Regions from separate parts of the Homo sapiens genome. Here all the other regions are linked to region 1. Evidence: promoter capture Hi-C in 16 types of primary human blood cells and fetal thymus (Javierre and others, 2016). All regions are on one chromosome and are shown on one strand. The core of a region is centred on a gene start or on the middle of the fragment in contact, and the rest is flanking DNA. Distances in the headings are between cores, read along the strand shown.

Region 1 (4,197 bases), core at 442-2,941:
GCAGTGAGTTGGGCTGCTTTTCCAAAGCTAAGTTTCTCAACAGCGGAGGGGCAGGGGATGGCGGTGATACCGACCATTTGAACACCCCTTCCCTCCCCAGTGAGCTCTGTCTACAGGCCTCCATTTCTGTTCTTTTCTCCATCTGAACAAGTTCTTGTAAGGGAGGCTGAACGCTTTTAGAAGACACTCGGCGGCGCAAACTTGCAATCTCGAAGCTTTCCGTACCCAACAGCGAACCCACAACTCCTCGAGCCCGACCTTTTACCACCTCACTGAGGTTTCTGGTGCCACGCCAGCCTGGTGTTCCACGAATACAGCCCAAGTAACGTGAACACCACCGGACTGGGTCGCCCGAGAAACTTCACACTTTTTACCAGGCAAGACGGGCGGAAAAGCGTGGGTTTTCGCAAGGTGACCCATCTTCACATCTGGTCGACCCTCGGCTCCTCCCAGACCCCTTCGCGGTGGACTTGGGGGCCTCGCCGGGTTCGCCTTTTCCGTCCCACGCTCCTTTCTCTCGTCTCCCCACCCACGCCCGGGGCCATGCCCAGCTGGACCTCCCCACCCCTGCACTCACCCTGGCGGCCGACGATCTCGGCGACGTGCTCGGAGCTGGGCACCGGGACGCACTCGGTGGTGTTGACGCTCTTTCTCCGGAGCAGGGCCGCCTGCTCCCCGTTCAGGGCGGCCGCCGCCGCCCCACAACCGCCGGGGCCGTAGGCGTGGGACAGCATCGCCGCCATCATGCCCTGGGCATCGTCCCCTCCGTACAGCACCCCCGCCGCCGCCGCCGCGGCCGCCGCCTCCCGGGCATCGAACCTGGCGGCTGGCAGCAGCACAGACCCCAGGGACCCGCCCGGGATCTGCTGGGTCTGAGAGGCGGTGGCCGCGGGCGGCGACAGCAGCAGCAGCGACGACCGGTCCTCCTCCTCTGCTTCCTCCAGCTCCTCCTCCTCCAGCAGGTCTCCGTCCAGCTCCGCTTCCTCCCCCTCCTCCTCGTCCTCTTCCAGCTCCAGCTCGGCCGCCTCCGGGGCCCCGGGCCGGCCGGGCGGAGCCCGCTCCTCTGGAGACAGCTCCGCCGCCCGCCGGGCCTGGCCCTGCGCCGCCGCTGCCGGGGCCCGAAGCGCCGGGGCGCCGGGCTCCGCCGGGCTGGGGTCGTCGAGGCCTAGCGCGGCCAAGCGCTCCCTCAGCAGGAGCCCGTCCCCCTCGAGCTCCGGGCCGCCCGAGGGCGGCGGCAGAGGCGGCGGTGGCGGCGGCGGCGGCGGGGGCGGCTGCGGCAGGGGGGCCGGGGCCGCCGCCAGGGCCAGGGCCGCGGAGCTGCCGCTGGGCATCGCGGCGGCGCGCTGTCAATGGCGGCGGCGGCGGCCGGGTCAGGCGCGGCAGGCGGCGAGCCCCATGGCGGACAGGGCCAGGGCCCTGCTCAGCTCGCAAACACCTTTCCTCTGGGGAGGCGGCGGGGCTGGGGACCCGGGCCGAGGAGCGCCAGGGCCGCCCGGAGACCGGAGAGGGCGGGGTGGAGGGGCAGGGGAAGGAGGCAGAGGTAGGTAACTAGGTGGGTGGGTGGGGACGGCGGCGGGGCGGGCTGGTGGAGGTGGCAGCGGCTCCCCTCTCAGTGTTTCTTTTGTTTCATGGCCTTAACCAGCCCCCGGCGCGCGCGGCGGCGGCGGCTACGCCCCACGCCGCTCTCCGAATGAAGCCGGCGCGCTCTGATTGGGTGCTTTTAATCTCTGGGAGCCCGCCTTCTCCTCCCGCAGCCTTCCAACTCCTTTCCCCAGCCCCACCCCCCACCCTCCTTCGGGCCCCGCCCCTCCCCTCCCCAGAGCTCTCTGATTGGGTGACCGGGACCAGCCAGTTCCCGAAGCCTACTCCTTCCGTCCTCTCCCCGCCCACCTCCCTCTCATTCCTCCCGGCACGCGCGGAGAGGGACTGTGATTGTTCACTTTACACGTCACTCTTTGTGACGTCCCCGGCGGGGGCGGGAAAAAGGAGGCGGACGAAGGCGCTGCAGCAGAGGCTGAAACTAAGGGCCAAGCGGGGTTTTGGCGCAGGCGCGTGCGGTCGAAGCGCACACCTGGATTTGTTTCCCCCCAACCCTTCATCCCTGTAGCCCATGTGGCTGAGTTCTTTTAGGGAAGGCACTGTGTGAGCGGCCTGGAGCAGAGCTGCAGGCATAGGTTCGAGAGCATTGTTTCCTTGGGTTGAGGAAGAGATCGCCCCCTTCAGAGGAAGGGCCTTAAGAAGAGTCACGGAAGGAGGGGCCACGCAGTATCCTCCTATCCCCTCGCGGGGGCGGTTTCCTGAGCCGCGTGGCTCCCGGGCCTTCCCTCTCGGACTCGGGAATGCTCCTCCCACGCCCCGCTGGCCCGGCTTCTCTGCCGGCAGGATGGTTACATCAGCAGCCTGGAGGTGCTGAAGTTTAGCTCTTCGGGGTTTTTTGTTTTTTTTTTTTAAACGGAGTCCAGCTCTGTCGCCCAGGCTGGAGTGCAGTGGTGCGATCTTGGCTCACTGCAACCTCCGCCTCCCGGGCTCAAGAGCTTCCCCTTGCAGTGGCTCACGCCTGTAATGCCAGCACTTTGAGAGGCTCAGGCGGGCGGATCACGAGGTCAGGTCAGGAGTTCGAGACCAGCCTGATCAACATGGTGAAACCCCGTCTCTACTAAAAATACAGAAATTAGCCGGGCATGGTGGCGCACGCCTGTAATCCCAACTACTCGGGAGGCGGAGGCAGGAGAATCGCTTGAACCCGGGAGGTGGAGGTTGCAGTGAGCCAAGATCATGCCACTGCACTCCAGCCTGGGCGACAGAGCGAAACTGCGTCTCAAAAAAAAAAAAAAAAAAAAAAGAGTTTCTCCTGTCTCAGCCTCCCGAGTAGCTGGGATTACAGGCACGTGCCACCACGCCCAGCTAACTTTTGTATTTTTAGTAGAGACGGGGTTTCACCATGTTGGCCAGGCTGGTCTCGAACTCCTGACCTCAAGTGATACGCCCGCCTCGCCCTCCCAAAGTGCTGGCATTACAGGCGTGAGCCACCTCGCCCAGCTCTTTGGTGCTTTTTAAGAAAATGAATCCCCGTTTCCTCCTCCCTAGACACTCTTCCCACAGTATTGCTCAGGTGATCTCACGCAGTGGCTATCTTTTCTAGAGGTTATTATTTCTGTTTTTGTTGAGACAAGAGTCTCACTCTGTCGCCTAGGCTGGAGTGCAGTGACATGATCACAGCTCACTGCTGCCTTGACCTCCTAGGCTCAAGTGATCATCCCGCCTCAGCCTCCCCAGTGCATCACCACGCCCGGCGCGCATCACCACACGTGGCTAATTTTGTTTATCTTTTGTAGAGACTGGGTTCTTACCCTGTTGCCCAGGCTGGTCTCAAACTCCTGGGCTCAAGCGATCCTTCCACCTGGGCCTCTCAAAGTGCTGGGATCACAGGCGTGAGCCACCGCGCCTGGCCTCTAGGGGGTATTTTTAAATGGCTTGTTAAAAATTATGCTTCTTAACTTTCCTCTGTCTTAGGCTGTGACTAGCCCGTCTATCCCTTTAGTACTAAGTCCTGCCAGGTTAATCTTAGCCAGCAGCTTGGTCCTATACCTACAGATACAATGTAACAATGTAATTTTAAAATTTCTAAATGACCCCTTTAAAGCAAGAAGAAACATAGTTTTAATAAATACACTTAGTTCAATATGTCCAAAATAGTATTTCAACATGTAAGCCATATAAAATTACTGATAATGTTTACAGTTCTTTTGCATTAAGCCTTTGAAACCAGGGTGTGTTTTACACTTCCAGAAGTTCTTTTCACACTAACTGCATTTCAAGTACTACTCAGTAAGTACTCTAAATTTCTTGATTTTAAAATTATAACGGGACACTTTCTATATTGGATTAATTTATTATACCTAATTGCCTTAAACTCGTTTCTTAAGAGTCAACTTTAATTGAACATATACTTTTCTAAATTGTCTAGGCTGTTACCAAGACGGAGAAGGCTAAACTGTGACTTGCATTTGCTATTTTGTGCCCATAGGACATTTGCACAGTCCTACCTCACCCCTCTGATCAAAGACCTAGAGACTTTTAGCTAACACTAAACCTTTCCTGTTACTACTCCTAGATTTCCCCAGCCCTCCTAGAACCCTGTGTCTTGCTTCTCTAACAACACAATTGTAGCAGTAAGCTCTGGAGGAGGTGGGTTTA
Region 2 (4,197 bases), core at 996-3,495, 4.3 Mb before region 1:
CCAGAACCAGGCATGGAATAACCACTATATTAAAATGGGTATATACCATCATCATCATTACTGTCTGTAATGGGATGTAAGGGCGGGGTACAGTTCATCTTCAAGTGTAGGGTAACATGGGTCTGCACAGAGCAGTTAAGGCAAAGAAAAGCAGATGATGCTTACTGCATGTGCCCAGCCTGCACCCCTCACTCCTCTGAAAATTCTCCCCAGTTAGTCTCTGTTGGGCACGTCATATGAATTGTGGGAGAGGGGCCATCTTCTAAAAATGCAAGAAGTAAAGACAGCTGATTTACAGGAAAAGAGGATGAAGCTGATCCACAAACCAAAACAGAGAGGAAGGCAGAAAGGAAGAGAAAAAAAAGCTTCTTTGGTTTCTATCACTTTCCAGTTGCTGGTTGCACTCCAATCTGAGCACTGACTGCTTTTACTCTGCTCTATAAGAGCGAGTAAATTCTTCGCTTTACATTAAGCTTTGGCCAACAACATTCACAAGAGTCTAATAAAAATCCTGGAAAGTTTTCATTAACAAAAAAAAAAAAAAGAACTTAGAAAACTTGTATACATCTGTTACTACACAAAAATTAAAAATGGCAGGTAAAAATAAATATAACTTCAGAGTTCAGTCTTCTCAACCCATCCTAAATCTAACGCATGAATTTACAGAGGTGAGGTTCAGGGTTCGTTGTTTGAAAAGCTCCACAGGTGTTAAAAGCTCTACAGCTGGGGCTCTGAGCCACTAAAACCCTTAAACTTATCAAGTATGAACACCCTTTACCTACACTTATGGTTCTCTGCATAAACTAGTATGGGGCATAACATGTATTAATATGTGTTTACTGGGAACTTAATAATTATTTTTGAAACAGCAGGAGGGAATATGGCAGGCACTGTGCAAACTCCAACAATCTCCGTTTAGAGCAGAGGATACGTTCTTTTGCTCACGTCCACTAAGCAGGTAACCAGCCAACATCCTTCCCCCATCCCATCTCTTGCGGAAAACAATAAATATACAAAACTGAACCTTTTACCGGATTCCTCTTCCTTATTTGAAAAAGAAATCCTAATATCATAAGTGTTACACAAACGAGTTGCAGTAAATGTAATTTCAAGTTTACACTCATCTCTACCTTGATACATTTAAAAAAAAAAAAAATCAGGGTTTCTGTCCGTAAACATCTCATTTATGTCGCCAGTAATTCAGCGATACACACAAATCCATCTCATTCGTCACACTTAGTTAGGACTTTAAAGGTTATCAGTCTGGGGGGAAAAAGTCTCTTCTGTTCTACCCCCATCACAGCCCTATTCCAGACCTCTGCTATACAAGGGTATCAACAATAAAGTTATGATCTTGTTTTAAGACTGAGAAGAAAAAAATATTTTTCCTCAAGAGTAAAAGGGGTGCACAAACCTCACAACATAGACTTTGCAGATTTCTTACTAAAACACTAAGAAAATATCGAGGTTTAAGGCCGATTATTGAAGGCAGGGATCCCCAAACATTAGGTTCCTCGAAGATGTTAGGAGGCAAGGGTGGGAGAAGGGGCCTTTTCTCGTGACAGACCTGACTAAACGGTAGCATCAGCCATAAGAAGAGGAGAGATTCCTAAACGCAACTTCAGCTTTCAGAAAACAGTCCTCCACCAAGTGAGTAGCATGCAGACTTGTGAATAGCCACAGACACGTACACCCCGGTGAAGGTGCAAGATCAAACGTTGCTTCCCACATCGGCCCTCACTGCGAACCGGGATGTCGGGTCCCCATGTGCCCCTCCTGGAGGGCGCCCCGACCCCCCGCGCCAGGTGTGCGGACCACTGGCAGCACTCAGGAGCCGGCTCGCCGCGGCCCAGGCCCGCCGCCCCCGCGCCGCCCGCGTGCCCTCCGCCGGCCCGCTCCCCTCCCCCGCGCCCTCGGCGCCCGTTCGTCCGCGGGCCGGGGCTCAGGGCTCCGCCAACCGGCCCCAGAGGCACGAGCAGGCGGCGGCCGGCGACGTTGCGGTTTCCCCACCTCCTCTCCCATCCCCTCCCCCGCGGCCTCCGCTCTCCACTCCCGCTTACCCTCAACTCTTCGAAATCCGCCATTTTATACCACCCGCGGGCGCCGCCGCCGCTGCCGCCGCACCCACTCCCGCTGCCGCCAACGACGCTGCCGCCACCACGGCCGCCGCCGCCTCCAGCACCATCCTGCACTGGGCGCCGCTTAAGACGCCGCGGCCGCCGCCGCTACAGCCGGGCCCGTCACGTGAACGGCGCGGGAGCTCCGCCTCCGACGCGCCGAAGCCCCGCCCCTAGCGGTGCCCCCTGCCCACCCGCGCGACCGCCTTCCGCCCGCGCCTTCAGTCCGCGCGGCGACAGCGCCCGCCCGCGCCTGCCCCGGCGTGCTGCCCCGCGGCTTGGCCCCGCTCGGCCCCAGGTCGTGCCTTCCCTCCCCGGCGGAGGCCCCTGCGGACTGCCTAGAGCTGGGTCGCAACTGAGGCGTTATCCGCGGGCCTGGCCTCGGGAAGTGGCGGGGAGGAAGAAGAGGCGGCCGGGACGCGTGACAGGAGCATTCGGGAAGATTCTTACGGTGCCCTTCACGCGGTGCCTATGGACGGAGAAAGCCGCCGCAAATAAAACCATCCCCCAGAGTAGTTGTGGCGGAATAATCTAAATATGGGTGTTGGGTAAGCTATTGTTCCCATCTAATGGTGAGGTTGTGTGACACCTCTTTGAATTGCTAATGTCCTGCAAGTACCAACCTTGCCGAGTTTTTCTGACCTTGAAGGGCACCTGAAGGTCACGGACTGCAGAGTTGGGAGAGTTAGGCGGTGGGGTTGGGGGCGGGGAGAAGTGAAATAAGAGCGCTCAGAAGGGCCATGCTAAAAAGTCGGGGAAATCTGATAGCTAGGAAGGAGTCAAACGCCAAGGCAGAGTAAGTAGATAGAAGGAAGCTTGATGGCCCCCCCGTAATGTGCTGATATAGGATGAAGGAAGATGCTGAGTCAAGATGGCCAGAAAAATCGCTGGACGGTGTCCAGGGTTCAATTTCCTTGAAGAATTGGGTGGAACCCACACACGAGAGGTCTTTAAAACAATGTAACTTTTAAGGCCCTGTTTAATCAGCCTCCTACCTACCGCCTCTTCCCACTACCCCTCGTTTCATCCGCACTGCACTTCCAGGTCTTCCTTCCACTCCCCTGCCCCCGCACCCCGCAAGTTTTGTTTTTTTGAGACGGAGTTTTGCTCTTGTTGCCCAGGCTGGAGTGCAATGGCACGATCTCGGCTCACCGCAATGTCTGCCTCCCGGGTTCAAGCGATTCTCCTACCTCCGCCTCCCGAGTAGCTGCGATTGTATTTTTGGTAGAAACGAGGTTTCTCCAAGTTGGTCAGGCTGGTCTCCAACTCCGGACCTCAGGTGATCCGCCCGCCTCGGCCTCCCAAAGTACTGAGATTACAGGCGTGAGCCACTGCACCCGGCCTCCCCTCAAGTTTTAAGGCTTCTAAATGTTGATCCTTGAACCAAGAATAATTTCCCACTCTCTTCTTTGTTCCTAACTCCTGTTCATCCTTCAGGTTTCACTTTAAGTGTCACTTCCTCAGGAAGACCATCCCTCACCCACATCCCACATTTTAATTCAAATTCCCCTGTTATGACCTCTCCTAGGACCCTGAACTTTTTCTTCCTGAGATGTCTCCATGGTAATTATGTAGGTATTTGTGTAATTGTTTATTTGATATATATGTGTGTGCGTGTATATATATATATGTGTGTGTGTGTGTGTGTGTGTGTTGTGTATATATACACAACACACACACATATTGTTTTGGCCAGGTGCAGTGGCTCATGCCTGTAATCCCAGCACTTTAGGAAGCCGAGGCAGGTGGATCACTTGAGGTCGGGAGTTGCAGACCAGCCAGGCCAACATGGTGAAACCCTGTCTCTACTAAAAATACAAAAATTAGGCCAGGAGCTGTGGCCCACGCTCTAAATTCCAGCACTTTGGGAGGCAGAGGCGGGCGGATCACCTGAGGTTGGGAGTTGGAGGCCAGCCTGACCAACATGGAGAAACCCCGTCTCCACCAAAAATGCAAAATTAGCCAGGCGTGGTGGCGCATTCCTGTAATCCCAGCTACTCCGGAGACTAAGGCAGGAGAATCGCTTGAACCCTGGAGGCGGAGGTTCCAGGGAGCGGAGATAGCGCCATTGCACTCCAGC
Region 3 (4,197 bases), core at 783-3,282, 3.3 Mb before region 1:
AGTTTACTTTTAAACATAGGCAAACTATAAGATCACAGATTCACTATGCTACTTCCTCAGATCAAGAGTCTTTTTTGACTTAAGAGACTCAAACTAATGAACAGATGGAATACCAGTGGTTCACCCAAGATTATTCCTACTGAATACATTAAATGTGAAACTACATCCCCCTTCCCCACAAAATGAGGGAAGGTATGACACTGTAGATTATTCAAGGAAATGCAAATTTTTACATTAAGGTAGACACGTGTACTAAACAGAAGCAACTAAAGTCTATCCTCGCTTTCCACTACTCTACAGCCTTGAGGCCAATGTAAAACCAGATTTTGAAAAATGACAGGGCTACCTAGGATAATTAGTGACAATTTCACAGTAAATTCACAAACTTTGATAAGAATTAATCACGTCAGAATTTCTATTTTCTTAAGACTACAAACCTAAAGATACATCAAGCACCTGTCCTATCAATGTGCCTCAGTTACAAATAAGAGGAACCCACTGAGCCAAGGAGAACCACTCACACTGTACAATGTGAGGCAAGCACAGAAGACACAGAATTGCCCTAATATTTCTGGCTATCTGACCAAACTAAAGGCAGTGTCTAAATCCACCTGGCTTGGAAAAATTATATTCTCCCTACATGAAATTGCTGAACTGAAGCTGCGAGCTATCTTTGAGATGTAAATCTAGAATCAACATTGAATTATGTCCTAACTGAATACATCACAATTACACCAACCTGAAAAAATGATCAAAATTGATCAATGACAAGCAATAAGCCTCTAACTATGCATTTTTAAACCAAAAAGGCTAGTACTTTTGTACTACTGCTAAAAAAAAACCTGATTCTTAAAAACAGCCAAGGCTACATATTACAAGGTCACCAATAATTATCTGATGGTGTAGATGGTTTAAGAAGTAACCCTGAGGTAAGGTTACAAGAAAGGGGATCAAAAAAATTATCAGTGCTAATACTGGGCAGAAGTCACATGACAAGAGTCAAGAAACCCTCAACAGAGAGACTGGCCAACTATCCACTCTTGCTTTATCCTAGAAATCTCGAGCATACTCTATCTCAAAACACAGTGAAAAGCATACACTACTGTCAAAGCACAAGTGAAAATTTATATGATACTCCTGCAGACTGACAAAAAAATTACTTACACCAAAGAAAGGGGTGACATAGGGTGCTACCACACTGAAACAGCCTTTCTTTACTGCTGGCTACCCTTTCAGCTTGGAATCTGAATGGCTGTCTGAATGGCAAAACAAATGAAAAACATCTTGGTCATAACAGCTACTGTGATCTTTCATGAAATAAGCCATAAGCTATAGCACAATCTTCAACCCCTTTAAGAACATTTCTTAATCATCCTGAGTGACAATCTAAAGTATATTACGTAGATTATTGCACTCTTAAAAAGATTTTCCCAAACATGATTTAGGCTAATTGATGAACATTCATTACTATGCTTTCAGGTCTGGTCCTGCACTCAATGGCCCCAGACATGCTAGTCAGGCTTTGACTATTTTTGTGTCTTGTAGATTATCTCTATTATCCTCACCGAGCTGTTATCTGTTTTTTCTGACAAGAGACACTAGGCTAACATCCTACTCCCCAGCCCCCACCACACCCCCTCTAAGCCTCCCACAGTACCCATAATCTACTTGTTTCTAATCTAGTGCAGGTTTAGAAGCCAGATAACTTTGCTTGTTAGAAACACTTTAAATAAATGCCAACACATTCTTATTAAGGGTCTCCAAGGCTCTCCTAAGCTTTAAGCTATGGACTGGGACAATTTGGCTATCCCAGGCCTTTGTTGTTCATTGTCTGCTTCTCAAATACATTTTACAATAGGTCCATAATAACAGTGTAGGCAAATCATTTGGATTAGAAAGAGCCCAAGTAACAAACCCACAACTACAAGAGAGGAAGAAATCATTTGGGAGGACCCTTATATCTCAGGCAATGTTCTAGGTACTTGAATTGTGATCACTGAATAAGAGGAAGGGGTTAGTACTTCCATTTTGTGTCAGAAAACCAAGGGCCTGGGGTTGGTAGTAAATTGCCCAGTATTGTAACTGAGAAACAAAATATTAGGCTAGGGCTCTCTGATTCCAAAACCCAAGGCCTTTCCACTACATGAGACTGCTGTCCAATCCTGGGTCTCGGTTTAACTAACTTTTTACACTATTCCCGATCCTTTCACTGAGTTATTCAACTCTGCTTTCTTTCCTTAACCAGCTTCTGTAATTAAAGGGCAATAAGTGATCAAATTAAGGTCAGATGAAGCTTAGCTCTACAAGTGTACATCTGTTCAGCAATAAACATGTTTCTGAAAGACTGGCCGTATCTTCAGTTTGTATAGACTGTGCAAAACTGGTGCCAAGGTCCCCCCAAAATACACAGATTGTTCCCAGTGACACTGAGTAACACTTCACATCTTCCCTAGTGCTATCTGCTACATGTTACAGGAAGCAAGGCAAGCTCACTTTAGGAATGGCTCAGTAATGCATGTGCCCTTGATTTGTACACTAACAACTGTCTTACTCTAAACACTGGAGAATAGGGCAAGGGACATGAGTTTCCACTTTTCTAACTCCATTAAGGAACAGGGGTGTACTTGTTTGCTGTTAAGAGACTTTATTGCCTAGTCCAGAGCCTGACACACAGAAAAAGCTGTTTGTTGAATAAATGAATAAATGTATTTGTTGAAAATAAATGCATCGGCCAGGCGCGGTGACTCACGCCTGTAATCCCAGCACTTTGGGAGGCCGAGGTGGGCGGATCACCTGAGGTCGGGAGTTCGAGACCAGCCTGACCAACATGGTGAAACCCCGTCTCTACTAAAAATACAAAATCAGCCAGGCATGGTGGCGCATGCCTGTAATCCCAGCTACTCAGGAGGCTGAGGCAGGAGAAGCGCTTGAACCCAGGAGGCGGAGGTTGCGGTGAGCCGAGATCGTGCCATTGCACTCCAGCCTGGGCAACAAGAGTGAACTCCGTCTCAAAATAAAATAAAATAAAATATATAAATGCATAATCTCTCATAACCTCTCTTAACTGGTTGTGAATTCCTTACGTTTCACATTTTCTGACATACCTTTGGAATACTTAGGGGAAAACATCTTACCTCTCACAGAAACTAAGGGCCTAAAAATGGCTCTTCTACACCCATCAAAAGACTAAGAATCTAAAAGACATGCCCCCCTCTACCCTCTAAAAATGACTCTTTGTCCTAAGAATATGAATAAATCTCCATCTGCCAGACTGCACTAAATACAGCTTTTATATGCATTACAAAAACACCTGTATAAAAAAGCTGCTACAAAACGAGGTTTTTGGAGCCCTAAAGCACAAAACCAACAGAATCAAAACCAAACAAGAACAAGGAAAGACTTTTAAAACTGACAGTATTTGCAAAATGTAAAAATTCAATAGGTCTTTGGCCAGCGGTTTACACAGCTAAACCGAGTTTTTCCATTGACATATATTCCCCCAAATGTGAAGTAAAGATTATAGCAACATGATTCTAATATTTACAATGTGAAAATGAAAAGGGGACAACAACCTCTGGCCATCTTGAAGTAGAATAGAAACAACCTTTGTTCCTACTAAAGTTCTGTTGAAATACCAAAACCATCCCCAATATTCCTACACAAGAGTTAAAACACATACCAAGCCTGATAAGACACAAACAACAGGAAATTACCCTGCACAGTTTCTTAAAAGACTATTATTTCATGAAACTTACAGACTGTGTAGAGACATGACCACTTATGACTAAGTAAACGTAGGTTACAACCTTGAAAACCCAAACTTTTGTTGAACACCTACAATGCTTGTGGCCGCACTTTAGAAGGTGTGGCTAAGTATAAAAACCAAGCTCTAAGAGCAATTTCTTACTAAAACCCCAAAATGAACGTTTCCAATCACATTACATTAATTAAACCTGGCCAGTGAACAGCCTTGAACTCAATTAAATCCAGCAGAGTTTAATATTTATAGTAAAAGTGGGCACACTCTTTAGAAATGCCGAAAGATGTGAACTATTTATATTTACTACGACAGCTAAGTTTACGGCAACGGCTAAGGAACTTTAAAAATAAAAGTATTACTTTTGAATTTAATATAAACGTTTGCTAAATGACCTTCTGGCAGAGGAAATTCTTTAAATATCTTGTATGGGTTTTCCG
Region 4 (4,197 bases), core at 1,208-3,707, 3.1 Mb after region 1:
AGCACTATGGTCGTGAGAGTCGTCAGTGCCCTATTCCTTCACATGTAATTCAGAAATTAGGGACAGGTATGGACTAGTTTTCCAACAGTTTCATTAGCAGGTTGAACTCTTAAATAAGCCAACTTTGAATGAGAAATATGCTCCAAAAATGGAGGGTCTTCACAGGGAATTAGCAAGCAATTAAATGCTTTTATTCTATCAGGAATTTTCACTGGAAAACTTTGTTGTTTGTTTATTTATTTATTTATTTTTTGAGACAGGGTCTTGCTCTGCACCAAGGCTGAAGTGCAGTGGTGCTGTGATAGCTCACTGCAGCCTTTGTCTCCCAGGCTCAAACAATTCTTCTGCCCCAGCCTCCCGAGTAGCTGGGACAGTAGGTGCATGCTACCAGACCTGGCTAACTTTTTTGATATTTAGGATAGACAGGGTCTCAAACTCCTGAGCTCAAGCAATCCTTCTGCCTCAGCCTCCGAAAGTGCTGGGATTATGGGCATGAGCTACTGCACCTGGCCTTGTTTTTAAATAGATAATTAAGTAAAGAGTCATTTAAGAATGTTTTCCAAGTTCAAAGAGAACAAAACTGTGATAACTGTATAGCATGAGATAACTTCTTTATGGGCATTTAGATTGTTTCCATTTTGAAGAACATTTAAATGCAAGTCATTGGATGGGCATATGCATATGTTTTCATTTATCTTGGGTAGATTTCAAAGAGTGGAATTGCTGGATCATATGGTAACATGAACTGTTTAAGAAGCTGCCAACTTTTTTCCAAAGTTTGTGTATTAATTTACATTTTCATCAACAATATTTGAAGGTTCCAGTTTTTCATATTTTCGCCAATATTTGTATTATCAGTCTCTTTGATTATAGTTGTTCTAGCGGTATATAGTAGTGTGGTTTTTCTTTTATGGATAGTGTTTTTGGTGTTATATGTAAAAATTCTTTGCCTAACTCAAAGGTCACAGATATTTTTTTCTGTTTTCTGTTAGAAGTTTTATAGTTTTTAAGCTTTATGTTTAGGTCCATTTTGAGTTAATTTTTTTATGTGTGGTATACGGTAAGGGTCTTCATTCTTTGCTTTGCATGTGGGTATCCAGTTGTTCCTGCATCATTTGTTGAAGACTATTCTCCACCCACTGAATTACCATGACATCTTTGTCAAAAATTAATTGACCATAAATATAAGAGTTTATTTCCTGACTTTCTTGTTTCATTGGTCTATATGTTTATCCTTAACACTGATTCCACCCTGTGGTGGTCTCTGCTGCTCTGTTTATTTTTCTGTAGTCTTTTTTTTTTTCCGTTTTTTCTTACAAAGTGGATAATTTGTATTGAGCTGCCTGTAAGTTCTCTGATTCATCTGTCATCTCATAACCGCTGTTGCCCCTGTAGTGATTTGTTGGTTTTGGTTACTGTACTTTTTAACTCTAGAATTTCTGTTTGTCTTTTGTTTATATGTTTGGTTTTGTTTCTTTATCAAGATTCTCCTTTTTTTGTAGTCATTATATTTTACTTTAATTCTTTAAACATGGTTGTCTTTAATTCTTTGGACATATCTATAATAATGAATTTGAAGTCTTTGCTAAGTTCACCTCAAAGTCAATTTATGTTAACTGCTTTTCCTCCCAAATATGTATCACACTTTCCTGTTTCTTTGCATGTTTTGAACTATTTTATTGAAAACTGAACCTCATAGATAATGTATTGTAGCAACTCTGGATTTACAATTTTTTCTTGTAGGGTTTTTTCTTTTTTGTTTCCTGTACTTCTTTTTAGGTAACTTGTCTGAACGTAATCTGCAGAATTTACCTCCCCTGTGCTGTGTAGCCACTGATTTCTCTGCTCAAGTGTTTTTTTTTTTTTTTTCCATTCAAATTTTTATTTTAATACTGGCTTCTGGGAAGTTGCCCATGTCTGTATAGTTTCATGGTTAGCCAGTGATTGGCAAAGGTTTTGCTCAAACACTAGAGTCTGGAAGCCGTCTACCTCTGCCAGTGGATAAGTGTATGGGTTGGAGAGGGCTTAAAAAATTTAGGCCATTTTCCCATACTGCCCAAAGTAATTTATAGGTTCAATGCCATCCCCATCAAGCTACCACTAACTTTCTTCACAGAATTGGAAAAAAATACTTTAAATTGCATATGGAACCAAAAATGAGCCCCTATAGCCAAGACAATCCTAAATAAAAAGAACAAAGCTGGAGGCATCATGCTACCTGACTTCAAACTATACTACAAGGCTACAGTAACCAAAACAGCATGGTACTGGCAGAAAAACAGAGATACAGAACAATGGAACAGAACAGAGGCCTCAGAAATAACACCACACATCTACAACCATCTGATCTTTGACAGACCTGACAGAAACAAGCAATGGGGAAAGGATTCCCTATATAATAAATGGTGCTAGGAAAACTGGCTAGCCATATGTAGAAAGTTGAAACTGGATCCCTTCCTTACACCTTATACAAAAGTTAACTCAAGATGGATTAAAGACTTAAATGTTAGAACTGAAATCATAAAAACCCTAGAAGAAAACCTAGGCAATAGCATTTAGTACATAAGCATGGGCAAAGACCTCATGACTAAAACACCAAAAGCAATGGCAACAAAAGCCAAAATTGACAGATGGGACCTAATTAAACTAAAGAGCTTCTGCACAGCAAAAGAAACTATCAGCAGAGTGAACAGGCAACCTACAGAATGGGAGAAAATTTTTGCAATCTACCCATCTGACAAAGGGCTAATATCCAGAATCTACAAAGAAGTTAAACAAATTTACAAGAAAAAAGCAAACAACCCCATCAAAAAGTGGGCAAAGGATATGAACAGACACTTTTCAAAAGAAGACATTTATGCTGCCAACAGACATATGAAAAAATGCTCATCATTGCTGGTCATTAGAGAAATACAAATCAAAACCACAATGAGATACCAGCTCATGCCAGTTAGAATGGCGATCATTAAAAAGTCAGGAAACAACAGATGCTGGAGAGGATGTGGAGAAATAGGAACACTTTTACACTGTTGGTGGGAGTGTAAATTAGTTCAACCATTGTGGATGACAGTGTGGTGATTCCTCAAGGATCTAGAACTAGAAATACCATTTGACCCAGTGATCCCATTACTGGGTATATACCCAAAAGATTATAAATCATGCTACTATAAAGACACATGCACGCGTATGTTTATTGTGGCACTATTCACAATAGCAAAGACTTGGAACCAACCCAAATGTCCATCAGTAATAGACTGGATAAAGAAAACGTGTCACATATACATCATGGAATACTATGCAGCCATAAAAAAGGATGAGTTCATGTCCTTTGCAAGGACATGGATGAAGCTGGAAACCATCATTCTCAGCAAACTATCACCAGGATAGAAAACCACACACCACATGTTCTCACTCATAAGTGGGAGTTGAACAACGAGGACACATGGACACAGGGAGGAGAACATCACACACCGGGGCCTATCTGGATGGAGGGCTGAGGGAGGGATAGCATTAGGAGAAATACCTAATGTAAATGAAGAGTTGATAGGTGTAGCAAACTAACACGGTACATGTATACCTATGTAACAAATCTGCACATTGTGCACATGAACCCCAGAACTTAAAGTATAAAAGAAAAAAAATTAGGCCATTTTCAAGTTTTTCTTGAATTTTAATTTCTGCTAGGCCCTCTTTATCTCCCCATGATGTGCATGTAGCCCTTTCAGTAAGGAGTGTATGGGGAGCTTGGGCCCTCTGTGGCCTTCCATTTATTTGCATGTAGCCTCCTAGTCAACTAGGGTTGTACGGGGAGCCTATGTAGTCCCTCTTTGGTTCTCTCATTTCCAAATCTCCTGGTGACATATCTGGCTGGTCCACTGATCTGTCCTTCACCCGAACCACGACTGAAGCTTCAGACTAGCAGAGCTGTGGGATCTTCCCATTCGTTTCCTATCAAATTTGCTCATTTTACTGGCAACACTGCTGAGTGTGGGCTTTTGCCCACTGCCTCAAATCAGGTCTGTCCCCTCTGGAAGTGAAACTGCTGGCTTTTGCAGCCTTCACCCTGTACCAACTGAGCTATGTAAAGGGACATTCGAACAGTCCCAGACAGTGAAGCTGCTATCTCCTACTTTCTTAGCTAACATATAGCAGCTGTTCATAGATCAGTACTTCTCACTTTGTTTGCCTTTGGTTCAT
Region 5 (4,197 bases), core at 874-3,373, 3.1 Mb after region 1:
ACGCCTGTAATCACAGCTACTCAGGTGGCTGAGGCAGGAGAATTGTTTGAACCCAGGAGGCAGAGGTTGCAGTGAGCCCAGATCGCACCACTGCACTCCAACCTGGGAGACAGACTGAGACTCTGTCTCAAAATAAATAAATAAATAACTAAATAAAATGAAAAACCACCAAACAACTATCTAGACTTATCAAACAGCTTTCACAAAGATAGCAGCCTAGCTCTCTGAACAGGTAATTTATAACCTAGATAGCAGACTTTGAAAGAACTGGTCCAGACATCTAAGAATTAAATATGCAAAGAGGAAGATTTTGTTTCCAAACCACTGAGACCCAGCTCTGCTTGTTATTCCCTTTTCTTCATGGATGCATCAACATATCCTTTAAAGCAGGGGTCCCCAGTCCCCAGGCCATGGACCAGAACCAGTCCCTGGCCTGTTAAGAACCATGCCGCATAGCAGGAGGTGAGTAGCGGGCCCGGGAGTGCAGCTTCATCTGTATTCACAGCCACTCTCCACTACTGGCATGACTGCCTGAGCACTGCTTCTTGTCAGATCAGCAGCGGCATTAGATTCTCACAGGAGCCTGAACGCTACTGTGAACTCGCATGCGAGGGATCTAGGTTGCATGCTTCTTATGAGAATCTAATGCCTGATGATCTATCACTATCTCCCATCACCCCAGATGGGACAGTCTAGTTGCAGGAAAACACGCTCAGGGCTCCCACTGATTCTACCTCATTATCTATTAAAATGTAATAATAATAGAAATAAAGTGCACAACAAATGTAACGCACTTGGATCATCCCAAAACCATCCCCCTCCCTTCTGTCTGTGGAAAAATTGTCTTCCATGAAACCAGCCCCTGGTGCCAAAAAGGTTGGGAATGGCTGCTTTAAAGGGTTTCTCAAGGTTCTAATATTTTATTTGATAAGAAGTAGAATCATATAAAAAACCAAACATATGTGTTAATTTGGGTATTTATACAGATATAGTGTATATACATACATACAGGCATGGAGGAATTTCCAAATTTCCTCTATTGTAAAACATACACATACACACACCAACACACACATGCACACATGGTATCCTAATAGAAGGCAAGGAGAATAGACATTTACTGAGCACTTCCTATGTGCCACATGTTTTATATACATTAGGATATTACAGTATATGGTAGCTTTTATCCATTCATTCAATCTCAATACTTTTTTTTTTTTTTAAGAGTAGAGCAACTGAGGCTCACAGCAGTTATGTAACCTGCCCAAAGTCACACAGCATGATGGAGGGTCTGGATTGGAGATTTTGTCTGACTACAACACTCATGTATCAAATCCTATTCAGTTTTGATGTTAAAAATTCTGTGGTTGAATTCGTCACAGTGTCTTTAAATAAAACAACAACAAACAAAACACAGCAAACCTTAACATAGTTGCTAATCATATGAGTTTACAAGGCCACCTGTGTCTTTACTATCAGTTACACTCCTTCCCACCCCATCACATTAATCACTCAGGTCTAGGGATTTGCAAGTTTGCTAACAGCCGAATGGAACAAAGACAAAACGCTAAAATTTGTGATGTGGGCCTAACTCCAAAGCCTTCAAGAAAAAAAAAAAAAGGCCAGGCGCAGTGGCTCATGCCTGTGATCTCAACACTTTGGGAGGCCTAGGAGGGTGGATCACCTGAGGACAGGAGTTCGAAACCAGCCTGACCAACATGGTGAAACCTCGTCTCTACTAAATACAAAAAAATTAGCTGGGCGTGATGGCGCATGCCTGTTAATCCCAGCTACTTGGGAGGCTGAGGCAGGAGAATCGCTTGAATCCGGGAGGCAGAGGTTGCAGTGAGCCGGTATTGCGTCACTGTTGCCCACTCCAGCCTGAGCAACAAGAACGAAACTCCGTCTCAAAAAAAAAAAAAATAGCCATTTGTGCTTTCAATCTCTCCGCTTCCGGCCTCCACCCGGCGGGAAAAAACTCCCGCACGTGGGCCTCCACGATTCCTTGGCATGCGTGTCACTCTGGGCAACAGGCTGGTCGGCCACGACTGCGCAGGCGAGAGGCACAGAGCGACTGGAGACTGTAGTCCCCCGGTTTCCCTGGAGACCAGGCGGAAGCGGCCGGAAGTAGCGCTGCGGTTGGCAGCGGCGGGATGGAGAAGCTGGGGGTGGAGCCGGAGGAGGAAGGCGGCGGCGACGACGACGAGGAAGACGCCGAGGCCTGGGCCATGGAACTGGCGGACGTGGGGGCGGCAGCCAGCTCGCAGGGTGCGCCGCAGCCAGAGGAGCCAGCGGCCTCCTTGGGTGTAAATGAGAAGGGTGGGGCAGGCGGACGCTCGGGGCGGCGGCCACTGGGGCGCGACCGTCCCCGCCCCACTCGGCTCCTCTAAGAGAGGGCTGCCTCCCTCTGCCTTGTGTTACGCGGCGGGTACCTCTAGAGGAATGGCTTCACCCAGCAGGAGTAGGGTGGGGCGCGTCCACACTACAAATACGTGTCGAGGGTTTATCTGCGCCGTCCTTTCCTCTGTGAGGGGCGAGGTGGGGCGGGAATCCCTCAGCCAGCCCGACGAAAACTGCAGAGGCTTCTGGGCCTTTTAACTTTGGAGAAGTTGAGGACCTTGTCGCTCATTTGGCAGAAGGTGGGACCCGGATCTCAGTCCTGGCAGGAAGGGATGGCTCAGAACCTAGGCGGAGTCAGGTCCGCTGTGGTCACGTCTCCGGTGACCCACTTCCAGCTCTGGTCTTTACCTTGTACCGCCCACCTCAGGGCCTGGATGTAAAGGCACCGGTTCTCATTTCCTGCTGGTTTTGTTTCATTCATTAATTTAGAGACAAGGTCTCCCTGCAGCCTCGAACCCCTGGGCTCAAGTGATCCTCCGCCCCAGCCTCTCCGTCCCGAGTAGCTGGGACAGCAGGCACGTGCCACCACACCTGGCTGATTTTCAGATTTTTTTAGATCAGGTGTAGCTGTGTTGTCCAGGCTGGTCTCAAACTCCAGCCACAAGCGATCCTTCCACCTCAGCTTCGAAAAGTATTGGGATTACAGTAGTTAGCCATCGTGCCTGGCCTTTTAAATTTTGGAACTTTAGGTTTACCTGAAAGTTGCAGAGCTAGATCCCCCTAGTGTTAACATAAACTCAGTACATTTGTCAAAACTAGGAAATTAACATTGGTATAATACTATTAATTGAACTACACGCTTTATTAATATTCTACCAGTTTTTCTGCTAACGTTCATTTTCTGTTCCAGGATCCCAACCAGAATATTGTATTGTATTTTGCCTGTCTTGTTTTTAGCCAGTGTTGAGAGAAGGAGTCGCCTCTGTCATTCCCTCCCCGACAAATAATGACCTAACAACTTTTTAAAATCAAAGAACTATTCAGTCTTTCAATTTAGTGAATATTTATTGGTGGTCTGTTATGTCCTAGACACTGTTTTAGGCACTGGCGATTTAGCATTAAACCAGATAATCCTGCTGCCATGGGAGCTAAAAATAGCCCACACTTGTACCCACTGGTTGTCTTTTGCCATTTTGTATTTCAGTTTTTGTTGGTTTGTTTGTTTTAAATGTAAGGGCATGCTGCTTAGAATAATTTTCAAGCTGTGTGAAAATCAACGTCATTTCAACTTTTCTGCCCCTTCTGGTTTACACTAAGAGCTACTATAAACTTCCAGGTGATAGTATTAGCTCTTTCATCATCCATTATTTATCACATTTTTTCCCTTCAAACTTATTACTATCCTGAGAAAAACGCAGTGCACAAACAGTAATTAAGAGGACTGAAGACCCTACCCTAAGTGGAGTTTCATGTCTTTGTAATTTTTCGATGCTTTCACACATAATCCAGGAGAAAACACGTCACTCTGCATTCTTCCTTCACAGGTACCATGTTTTAAGGAACTGTCAGTTGCTCAGAGATAATAAGCAGCCTGAATTTCTTTTTATTTCTTTGCATATTGTGCAGGAGTTCATGATCAAGTGTTGCCCACACCAAATGCTTCATCCAGAGTCATAGTACATGTGGATCTGGATTGCTTTTATGCACAAGTAGAAATGATCTCAAATCCAGAGCTAAAAGACAAACCTTTAGGTAACTGTAGATTTATAATATTTTTAATTGCATAATGATTAGATTAGCAACTCATCATGCTCATTATATACTGATTTATTAACCTTATTAAGAAAGATTTTGGAA
Region 6 (4,197 bases), core at 912-3,411, 3.1 Mb after region 1:
TTTAAAGAAACTACCAACAACTTTCCACAGTCACTGCACCATTTTGCATTCCCACCAACAGTGTCTAAGTGTTCTAGTTGCCCCATATCCTCATCTTCATGTGGTAGAGTCAGTTTTTTTTTTTTTTTTTTTAAAAGAGTTGAGACTTTCCTGAGGCAGGAGAATCACCTGAACCCAGGAGGCAGAGGTTGCAGTGAGCCAAGATCATGCCACTGCACTCCAGCCTCCAGCCTGGGCGACAGAGGGAGACTCTGTCTCAAAAAAAAAAAAAAAAAGTTTAGCCTTTCAGTGGGTGTGTGTATTGGCATCTCATTGTGATTTTAAGTTACATTTCCCTGATGACTAGTAATGTTAAGCGTCTTTTCAGGGCCGGGTGTGGAATCCCAGCACCTTGGGAGGCCCCAAGGTGGGCAGATCTCTCGAGCCCAGGAGTTCAAGACCAGCCTGGCCCACAGGGCAAAACCCTGTCTCTACAAAAAATCAACCTAAAGAGGGGATAGTTTTTAAACCCTTTTGGTCTTTACCATTTGAATAATGAAGAGTTCTGTTCTCCTCTTTCAGAGACGCTGTATTTACACACACACACACACACACACACTCTCTCTCTCTCTCTCTCTGTCTCTCCACAGCCCCACCCCCCATCTTTGTTCTTCCCCAAGGCAAGAACAGATGTTTATTTAATTAGTGAAAGGAGGAGAGTCTGACAATCGTAAGGCTATTGTGGGGTTAATGGTGCTGTGGCCCAGCCTTTAGAATCCTTTCTGGGTTTCCTCCCCCGAGGCATTGTGGGCTGACTCTGCTTCAGGTTCTCATCAGTAAGCTGGCAGGTGTGTTCGGCCTCCTGCAGGCCCCGACAGGCCTTTGTTCTCTCAGAAGCAGCTTCTCACCCTGCCACTAAGTGGAAGAATCAGGTTTGCTGTTCACATGGGGCTCTTCATTTCCAATTCACCATGGGTAGAGCTATGAGAGATGTAGGAAGGGGACCTCAGGATAAAACTTCTTTTTCCCCTCCATAACCACTTTTACTGCTAATAAAGTTGAGAATCAAAACATTTTTTACCTTCTTGGGTCTATTTCTGAGTTAGTAGAATCTGGAGGGGATTTTAACTATGGCTTTGAGATTAAAAAACAACAACAAAAATAAAACGCTGTGATTGACTTATGTAAACACATGGCTGTTCTGTTCCCTTCGTGGCCGACTTGCTCAGCTCAGCGGAAACGCAGTTAATGAAGAACTCTGTTTGTTGTCCCACCTTCTTTGCAGATGTCTTCAAGATCAGACTCCCTCCTGTCTCGTTCAATACTTAAGTATTTAGATACCTTGTAAAAAGCCTGGGTGTTACACAGGCATTTGCTGAGACAGGAAACAGAGGAAAGCATAAGTCAAAGAAACAGTAAATTTCAAGGCAGAAAGGGCTGATTCAAAAGCATTAAATAGAGCTATAGTCTGATAACATGATGCTAACCTGAGAAGCTCAGAAATTTTTCCTTGAAGAATTGATAAAGGTGACTCAGGGAAAATACCAGAGCAGGTATGGATGCCAGCAAATCTGGTTTGTTTCAAAAGCAGACGACGTCTCCTTTAATTTACTGAGTTAAAAATGCATATAATATTTTTATGGCATACATTTTCCCCTTAAAACTGTATATTCTTTGTGATCATGATCTTAGCAATAATAGTTTTGCCAACCACAGTCCCGTTCAGGAACATAACCTCTATAATTGATGAACATGTTCCTTTTAGATTTGTGCGTGGGGGGGGGTAAGGGAATCATTAAATATAAAAATAAAATAATTTAAATGTTCTGATTGAAAATCATAAGCTGGAGGCACATCCAAAATACCCATGGGTGTTGGAACAATACTGTCTTTGACATTATAAAATTATAAATTATATCAACATTATAAATTATATTGATTCGTTCCTGAAATTTTCTCCAGATATTTAAAAACAGATCAGTAAAAACCTCAAAACTGACTTTATCCTTCTAAAGTTTAAAATTTCATGACTGGCCGGGTACAGTGGCTCACACCTGTAATCCCAGCATTTTGAGAGGCCGAGATGGGTGGATCACCTGAGGTCAGGGGTTGGAGCCCAGCCTGGCCAACATGGCAAAACCCCGTCTCTATTAAAAAATACAAAAATTTGCCAGGCATGGTGGCACCCACCTGTAGTCCCAGCTACTTGGGAGGCTGAGGCAGGAGAATGGCTTGAATCCAGGAGGTGGAGATTGCAGTGAGCCAAAGTCACATCACTGCACTCTAGCCTGGGTGGCAGAGTTAGATTCTGTCACGGAAAAAAAAAAAAAAAAATGTTATGATTAGTTAGCCAGCTAGAGGTACAAACTCACACGAGGCCATCTGAGAATTCGATAATTTTTAGTGTTATCATAAATTTATTACCTATAAAAGTATCTATAAAATCCTGGATCTGGCCATTCAAACCTTCCCTGACAGTAGGGTTAATCTGGTGTTTGAGATTATGAAGGTTCTATATCTGACAGACATTTTGGAGGCCTTTTCAATTCTATCATCTTAAGACAACTGCCTTGAACTCTGTAAACTGCAGTCTTTTCTCTGATTGAAGTCTACTAATATCTCCTTATATAATTCAAGTGAATAAAAGGTTTGAATTAAATAGGGCATACAGTAAAAGACTTTTGCTATCAGAACAGTTCAAAAACCTTTTCAGATTTGTGGACTTCAAGTCTTGCCAATCTTTTAACCTACTTATATTCAATCAATGAGATCTGTTTGAATGCACTAAAGAGTAGATTCAACCCAATGTCAAAGAGAATATTCTTCCAACACCTAACACTATAGACAAATTAATTTGTTGCCTATTTCATCTACTAGTTATGACAGCATCCTCTTCAATAATTGCAAGTCTAAATTTTCAGATCAATACTGAAATGGGTTTCAGGCATGACTATTCTGCTATTAACCTGTTATACTATTTTAACATCTTATAATGAAGTCAATTGAAAAAAGATAATATTATTGGCAGCTTTTATTGGCCACTTACTGACCTTGAACTAAAGGTTAATCTGTACAAGCTCAATATAGATCCTGGTTGTTGACACTTTTATAAAACCTGCACTTCAGTGGACAAGAATAATGTCCTGGCATATTTCAAATAATGTCCTGGCATATTTCAAATAATGTTAAATATAATTCGAAGCCACCTACAATTCTTGTGTATTTTCTTTAAATAATCTAGCTTTTTCTAAATTTTATATTTATTTAAACTCTCTACAGTGGGTGCTTAAAAAAATAGTTGGCTCTTGTGTTTGTGTTCTTTACAATATCAAACCATGATATGGAGAGGATAAACTTGAGCCACCAAGAAGTGGACTCTGCCTAGGAAGACAGTTTGCTGAAGTTAGAAAGTACTGGTCTAGGAACCAGAAAACCTGATTCTGCCCAAGAGTTAGAATTGTGAGTGAGTTCTTTCTGGTTTTTAGTTTCCTTATCTGTAAAATAATTACCCAGTTCAATTGGATAATCTCTATGATCCCTTCCACATTCTGCATACTTGGATATCTACTGTTTCTAAATATTTTGGCATTTCTTATAAAGCCCTTTCACATTTACTTTATTATTTTTTCCTCACAAGAATTCCTGAAATAGATAAGGCAGAAGTTTAGAGGATAGATAGGTTGGGTATCATTTTAGATGTGGTAACTAAGGTTACGGGAGATTAGGTGTGATATGATTTGGCTGTGTCCCCACCCAAATCTCATCTTGAATTCCCACGTGTTGCAGGAGGGACCTGGTGGGAGGTAATTGAATCATGCGGCAGGTCTTTTGCGTACTGTTCTTGTGATAGTGAATAAGTCTCATGAGATCTGATGGTTTTAAAATGGGGAGTTTCCCTGCACAAGCTCTCTTCTCTTGCCTGCTGCCGTGTGAGACATTCTTTTCACCTTCTGCCATGATTATGAGGCCCCCCCAGCCACATGGAACTATAAGTCCCTTAAATCTCCCTTTCTTTTGTAAATTGTCCAGTCTCAGATATGTCTTTATCAGCAGTGTGAAAATGGACTAATTCAAGGTGATTGGTAAAAATTACCTATCTGGGGACTGGAGCAGTGGCTCACGCCTGTAATCCCAGCCCTTTGGGAGGCCAAGGTGGGCAGATCATGAGGTCAGGAGATTGAGACCATCCTGGCTAACACGGTGAAACCCCGTCTCTAC
Region 7 (4,197 bases), core at 1,089-3,588, 3.0 Mb after region 1:
TCTTGTAAGTAATACTGCCAAAGCTGGAAAGTTACAAAAGTGCCAGAATTATACGGAGGACTAGTCTTTCCTAAAAAATTTTTTTCCTGTGTGGCATTAATCTGTAAGAAAGTTTTTATAGGAATAATGCCCCAAAGTGTTACCTAATAAATTTTCTGAACTAAATAAATGTGCTAGAACAAAGTCAGTGTGATATGTCACAAGAAAATTGTGAGAATTGTAGAATACTTCTCAAAGAAGCCAATGTGTCACATTTAGAACTTAACCTTGCACCAAGTGACCACAATAAAAGAAAAATAACTCATAGGAAGATAAAAGGAAAAAGGCTGAAAAACCAAGCAATAAATATTCTCTTGGAACAAGAAAACTTCTATCTGGGTCAAATACACAGCAATACACCCCGGACTTGTCACAAACTCTTTGGTATTCTGTCCCACCACACTTCAAGATAACTGAAGATGCTATCAACATTCTTTTTCCACAACCACATGACTTAAGTATTCGTGAAACACAATTCAAGGTATAGAGTTCAGCAGGCAGATGAAAATAACAACCAGTAACAACAAGAACAATACAAGAAAAAACCAGAGGAAAGAGTACAGGATTCTACACAAGCAAAGCTCAACTCCAACTCTAACCTAGACTTCCAGAATACTCGGTATCACAAAATAAAATAGCAAGTCACTCGCAATATTGTCCGAAACTTGAACCATCTCTGCCCACCAGAGTTCCACCCCAAAACCTGATCTTCTATATTCCGCACCTGTGTCAGTGGCGCTGCTGTCCACTTAGTGCTTTATTCTCCAAGCTAGAAGGCCACATCACAATCTTTCAGCGCCCCCATGTCTCAGCCACACATCCAGTACCAAGTTCTAAATGTTCAAGCTCCTCAATGTTGACAAAAAAGCTTCACCTCCTTAATAAGTCATCGAAAGCTTTATATCTGTTATATAATTTTTCCCAGACTCTTTTCCCACCAGCTTTGGTAGCCTACATTCCAAACTCTAAATCACCAAAATATGCCATATACCTTTGAATCTTCCAGTCATGTCTTTCCAGATGGAAGGAGGAGCACAGCAACATCCTGCCTATCAAAAAGCTATTAAATCCTCCAAGCCCAGCTAAAATATCCTCCACCTCAACTAGGAAGTCTTCTGGGATTCTTCAATTCAAGTCAGAAATAATCTACTACCACTCGAAATTCTATTTTCATTACAATATTTCCTATATATTTCCTTGCTGAGTCAAACAACAATGCCACTCTTAAACTTCAAACACCATTATAGGCTAGCACTGAACAAGGTAACTTTCTGAGAGCAAAAAACGTTATCAGTTCAATACTAAAGGATGTAGTTTTCATTTGCAGACACAATGGGATAAATATTATTGTTTATTTAAAAGTTATATGGCAAAGAATTTTTAAAACTAAGCTAGAAAATATTTTCATGATTAATGTGTTTTACCACATAAGAAATAAAGTATTACTAATGACCTAAATTAATATGAAAAATTAGTAACATTACTCTGCCATTATGTCACTTATAAAATGCTGCAATAGCCAGGCGCAGTGGTTCATGCCTGTAATCCCAGCACTTTGGGAGGCCGAGGCGGGCAGATCACGAGGTCAGAAGATCGAGACCATCCTGGCTAACACGGTGAAACCCCGTCTCTACTAAAAATACAAAAAAATTAGCCGGGCGTGGTGGCGGGCGCCTGTAGTCCCAGCTACTCAGGAGGCTGAGGCAGGAGAATAACATGAACCCAGGAGGCGGAGCTTGCAGTGAGCTGAGATCGCACCACTGCACTCCAGCCTGGGCGACAGATCGAGAGTCTGTCTCAAAAAACAACAACAAAAAACAACAACAACAACAAAAAGCTGCAATAGCCATATGGTCCTTATTATCAGATATCAGATACTCAAGTTATTGGTAAACGACATTCTGATAAACTAGTTAACATACCACAAAAAAATGAAAACACAAAATCCACAAAATAAAAATGACAATTCTGTGGCCAGGCACGGTGGCTCATGCCTGTAATCCCAGCACTTTGGGAGGCCAAGGCAGGCAGATCACCTGAGTTCGGGAGTTTGCGACCAGCCTGACCAACATGGAGAAAACCCATCTCTACTAAAAATACAAAATTAGCCAGGCGTTGTGACGCATGCCTCTAACCCCAGCTACTCGGGAGGCTGAGGCAGGAGAATCGCTTGAACCCAGGAGACAGACGTTGCGGCAAGCCGAGATGGCGCCACTACACTCCAGCCTGGGCAACGAGCAAAACTCTGTCTCAATAAAATAAAATAAAATGACAATTCTCAATCAGCTGTCTCTCACATAGATCTCTTTTGTGCAATAAAAAACAGCTCTAGAGTAGACACCTTATTTCAACAAATTCATTTTCCAGAAGATGAAATACTCAGGCAGTAACTCTTACCAAAAAGATAAGCATACTGTTCTTAGCTTATGGCTTAGAGACAAATAGGAAGCTATTTATGAGGGAATCAATTGACAAACTTCACAAATTAAACCTGCAATAAGTAGTTCCTTATCTTAAAGTTGAAATGTCAGTTATCCACTGCAGCTGAAAACATAATAGAGCCTCACCACAATGTTCCTCTACAGAACAAAACTCATTAGAGACCAGTTCATTTTAGATCTCTCCCCCAAATCAAGATAATTTGAACTCAATTAAAAGGCTATACTCACGAAATGTGATCACTTATGTTTATCATCTAGATTAGCAGTTCATCAGCAGTTTAACACGGCTTCATATTATTTCTATTGTTTATTAATTTTAAAAATGAAATGGGGGGCCAGGCACGGTGGCTCACACCTGTAATCCCAGCACTTTGGGAGGCCAAGGAGGGCGGATTGCCCGAGCTCAGGAGTTTGAGACCAGCCTGGGCAACACGGTGAAACCCCATCTCTAATAAAATACAAAAAAATTAGCCCAGCGTGGCGGCGTGCGCCCGTAATCCCTGCTACTTGGGGAGGCTGAGGCAGTAGAATTGCTTGAACCTGGGAGGCGGAGGTTGCAGTGAGCTGAGATTGTGCCACTGCACTCCAGCCTGGGCAACAGAGTGAGACTCCATCTCCAAAAAAAAAAAAAAAAAAAAAAAGGAAGGTATTTATTATAAACAAAAAGGCTAGACATCCTTTACTAATAAACTAAGTTGGCAATGAAGGAAAAAAGGTAGAAGTTTTAACTATTAGCATATCCAAAAGAAAGCTGGAATATTCACTAGTAACCAGTAAATTCTTATTCATAATGAATAACCATTTCCTGTTTTACAGATGGAATTCTATGAAACATCTGTATTGGATAGCTACAAGTATCTATCATATATACTGCTGCCTTCAGAAAACAGTAGTACAAGCCATTTTCTTCTCCGTAACTGCTACAGTCTGTCTGTGGTGCTTTAAGGAAAGTCAACCTGGCTGCCCCAGGGGATTTTAGGCCAGAGACTTTACTCTTCAGGAGGTGAAAGCAAACATGGAGGAGGGCAAGGCCCAAGGGAATGATTAAGTAGGAATTCTGCCCATGAGATGAGATACAGACCATCTGTACAGTAGCAAACTGACCCTGGGAGAGGCAAACTGAGGAAATAAATGCTAGATGAACAAAAAGACTGTCACCTAAGTTCTAGTCTTACCCAAAGTGATTAAGTTTAATCACCTGTCTACCCTCAATAATGGCTGCTGTAGGTCCTGGTCTCAGAAACACCAAGACTTAAAGTGACTAAGCTTTTATTTTAAAAGCATCAATTTGTAACTTAGGGAAGTTCAAAAACTCTAGAAGACTGAGTGAAGGATATTAGTCATTTTCAGTTCTCTCTGCCCATTATGATTACTTCTAATCCCAGTAATGAAATACTATTTCACTTTCAACCACAAAAAAAAATTCCCTACCAACTGCCCCCTAGATATGCCATTCCTGAACCAACTGTGATCACACCTTTAACTTCTTCTACCCACTATTTAAATAAACTCTGAAAAAAGCCCTGAAGAAACATACTAATTAAATGAAAATCAAAACATGAATTGTATTTTTCCAGTTCACATAGGAACATTTCATCACTTAAAAATAAAAATAAAATAACAAAAAAAAAGTAATTGAAACCAGAAATACTCAGATTACGCTCACTTTAATTTAGTGGTACTCATATTTTGTCGCACTGTGAACTTACCTGTAATT

The links. Contacts are between HindIII fragments. The CHiCAGO score rates a contact against its expected background, and 5 or more counts as called.
Region 2: the fragment with the promoter of PIAS2 here is called in contact with the fragment with the promoter of MEX3C in region 1 in 1 of 17 cell types (activated CD4 T cells); the score reaches 5.6 in activated CD4 T cells.
Region 3: a contact is called between a fragment that was not itself captured here and the fragment with the promoter of MEX3C in region 1, in 3 of 17 cell types (neutrophils, fetal thymus and naive CD8 T cells). The highest score is 6.3, in neutrophils.
Region 4: a fragment that was not itself captured here is called in contact with the fragment with the promoter of MEX3C in region 1 in 2 of 17 cell types (total CD4 T cells and fetal thymus); the score reaches 7.4 in total CD4 T cells.
Region 5: the fragment with the promoter of POLI here is called in contact with the fragment with the promoter of MEX3C in region 1 in 5 of 17 cell types (non-activated CD4 T cells, naive CD8 T cells, M0 macrophages and 2 more); the score reaches 12.5 in non-activated CD4 T cells.
Region 6: a contact is called between a fragment that was not itself captured here and the fragment with the promoter of MEX3C in region 1, in 1 of 17 cell types (naive CD8 T cells). The highest score is 5.1, in naive CD8 T cells.
Region 7: a fragment that was not itself captured here is called in contact with the fragment with the promoter of MEX3C in region 1 in 2 of 17 cell types (activated CD4 T cells and total CD8 T cells); the score reaches 6.0 in activated CD4 T cells.

Annotation. Positions count from the first base shown.
Region 1 is chr18:51,195,990-51,200,186 of GRCh38, forward strand. It overlaps MEX3C (mex-3 RNA binding family member C), which reads right to left and starts at 1,692. Exons shown (of 2, transcript NM_016626.5): 1 at 578-1,692. The coding sequence starts at 1,331. RefSeq lists enhancers at 1-317, 2,116-2,205 and silencers at 656-705, 726-775, 1,036-1,115, 1,256-1,365, 1,386-1,915. The HindIII fragment of the contact is 5,421 bases long and covers 214-4,197 here.
Region 2 is chr18:46,915,262-46,919,458 of GRCh38, forward strand. PIAS2 (protein inhibitor of activated STAT 2) reads right to left here and starts at 2,246. Exons shown (of 14, transcript NM_004671.5): 1 at 2,061-2,246. The coding sequence starts at 2,084. KATNAL2 (katanin catalytic subunit A1 like 2) reads left to right here and starts at 2,341. Exons shown (of 18, transcript NM_001387690.1): 1 at 2,341-2,665. RefSeq lists silencers at 1,616-1,695, 1,766-2,505 and enhancers at 1,642-2,395, 3,903-4,197. The HindIII fragment of the contact is 2,459 bases long and covers 472-2,930 here.
Region 3 is chr18:47,924,889-47,929,085 of GRCh38, forward strand. All of the region lies in intron 1 of SMAD2 (SMAD family member 2), which reads right to left. Among named protein-coding and RNA genes, the nearest start is that of SMAD2, 3.7 kb to the right of the region's middle. The HindIII fragment of the contact is 517 bases long and covers 1,775-2,291 here.
Region 4 is chr18:54,287,346-54,291,542 of GRCh38, forward strand. It overlaps POLI (DNA polymerase iota), which reads left to right. Exons shown (of 10, transcript NM_007195.3): 8 at 1-66. Among named protein-coding and RNA genes, the nearest start is that of POLI, 20 kb to the left of the region's middle. The HindIII fragment of the contact is 2,897 bases long and covers 1,010-3,906 here.
Region 5 is chr18:54,267,394-54,271,590 of GRCh38, forward strand. POLI (DNA polymerase iota) reads left to right here and starts at 2,124. Exons shown (of 10, transcript NM_007195.3): 1 at 2,124-2,268; 2 at 3,967-4,092. The coding sequence starts at 2,154. It overlaps LOC124904307 (a long non-coding RNA gene), which reads right to left and starts at 2,512. Exons shown (of 2, transcript XR_007066379.1): 1 at 2,433-2,512. RefSeq lists enhancers at 1,486-1,635, 1,896-2,025, 2,556-2,605 and a silencer at 2,236-2,485. The HindIII fragment of the contact is 5,901 bases long and covers 1-4,197 here.
Region 6 is chr18:54,246,461-54,250,657 of GRCh38, forward strand. LOC124904306 (a long non-coding RNA gene) reads right to left here and starts at 2,251. Exons shown (of 2, transcript XR_007066378.1): 1 at 2,170-2,251; 2 at 660-1,354. RefSeq lists enhancers at 21-906, 907-1,793. The HindIII fragment of the contact is 8,611 bases long and covers 1-4,197 here.
Region 7 is chr18:54,206,200-54,210,396 of GRCh38, forward strand. All of the region lies in intron 1 of MBD2 (methyl-CpG binding domain protein 2), which reads right to left. Among named protein-coding and RNA genes, the nearest start is that of SNORA37, 14 kb to the right of the region's middle. RefSeq lists a silencer at 2,447-2,647 and enhancers at 3,518-3,567, 3,658-3,997. The HindIII fragment of the contact is 2,811 bases long and covers 934-3,744 here.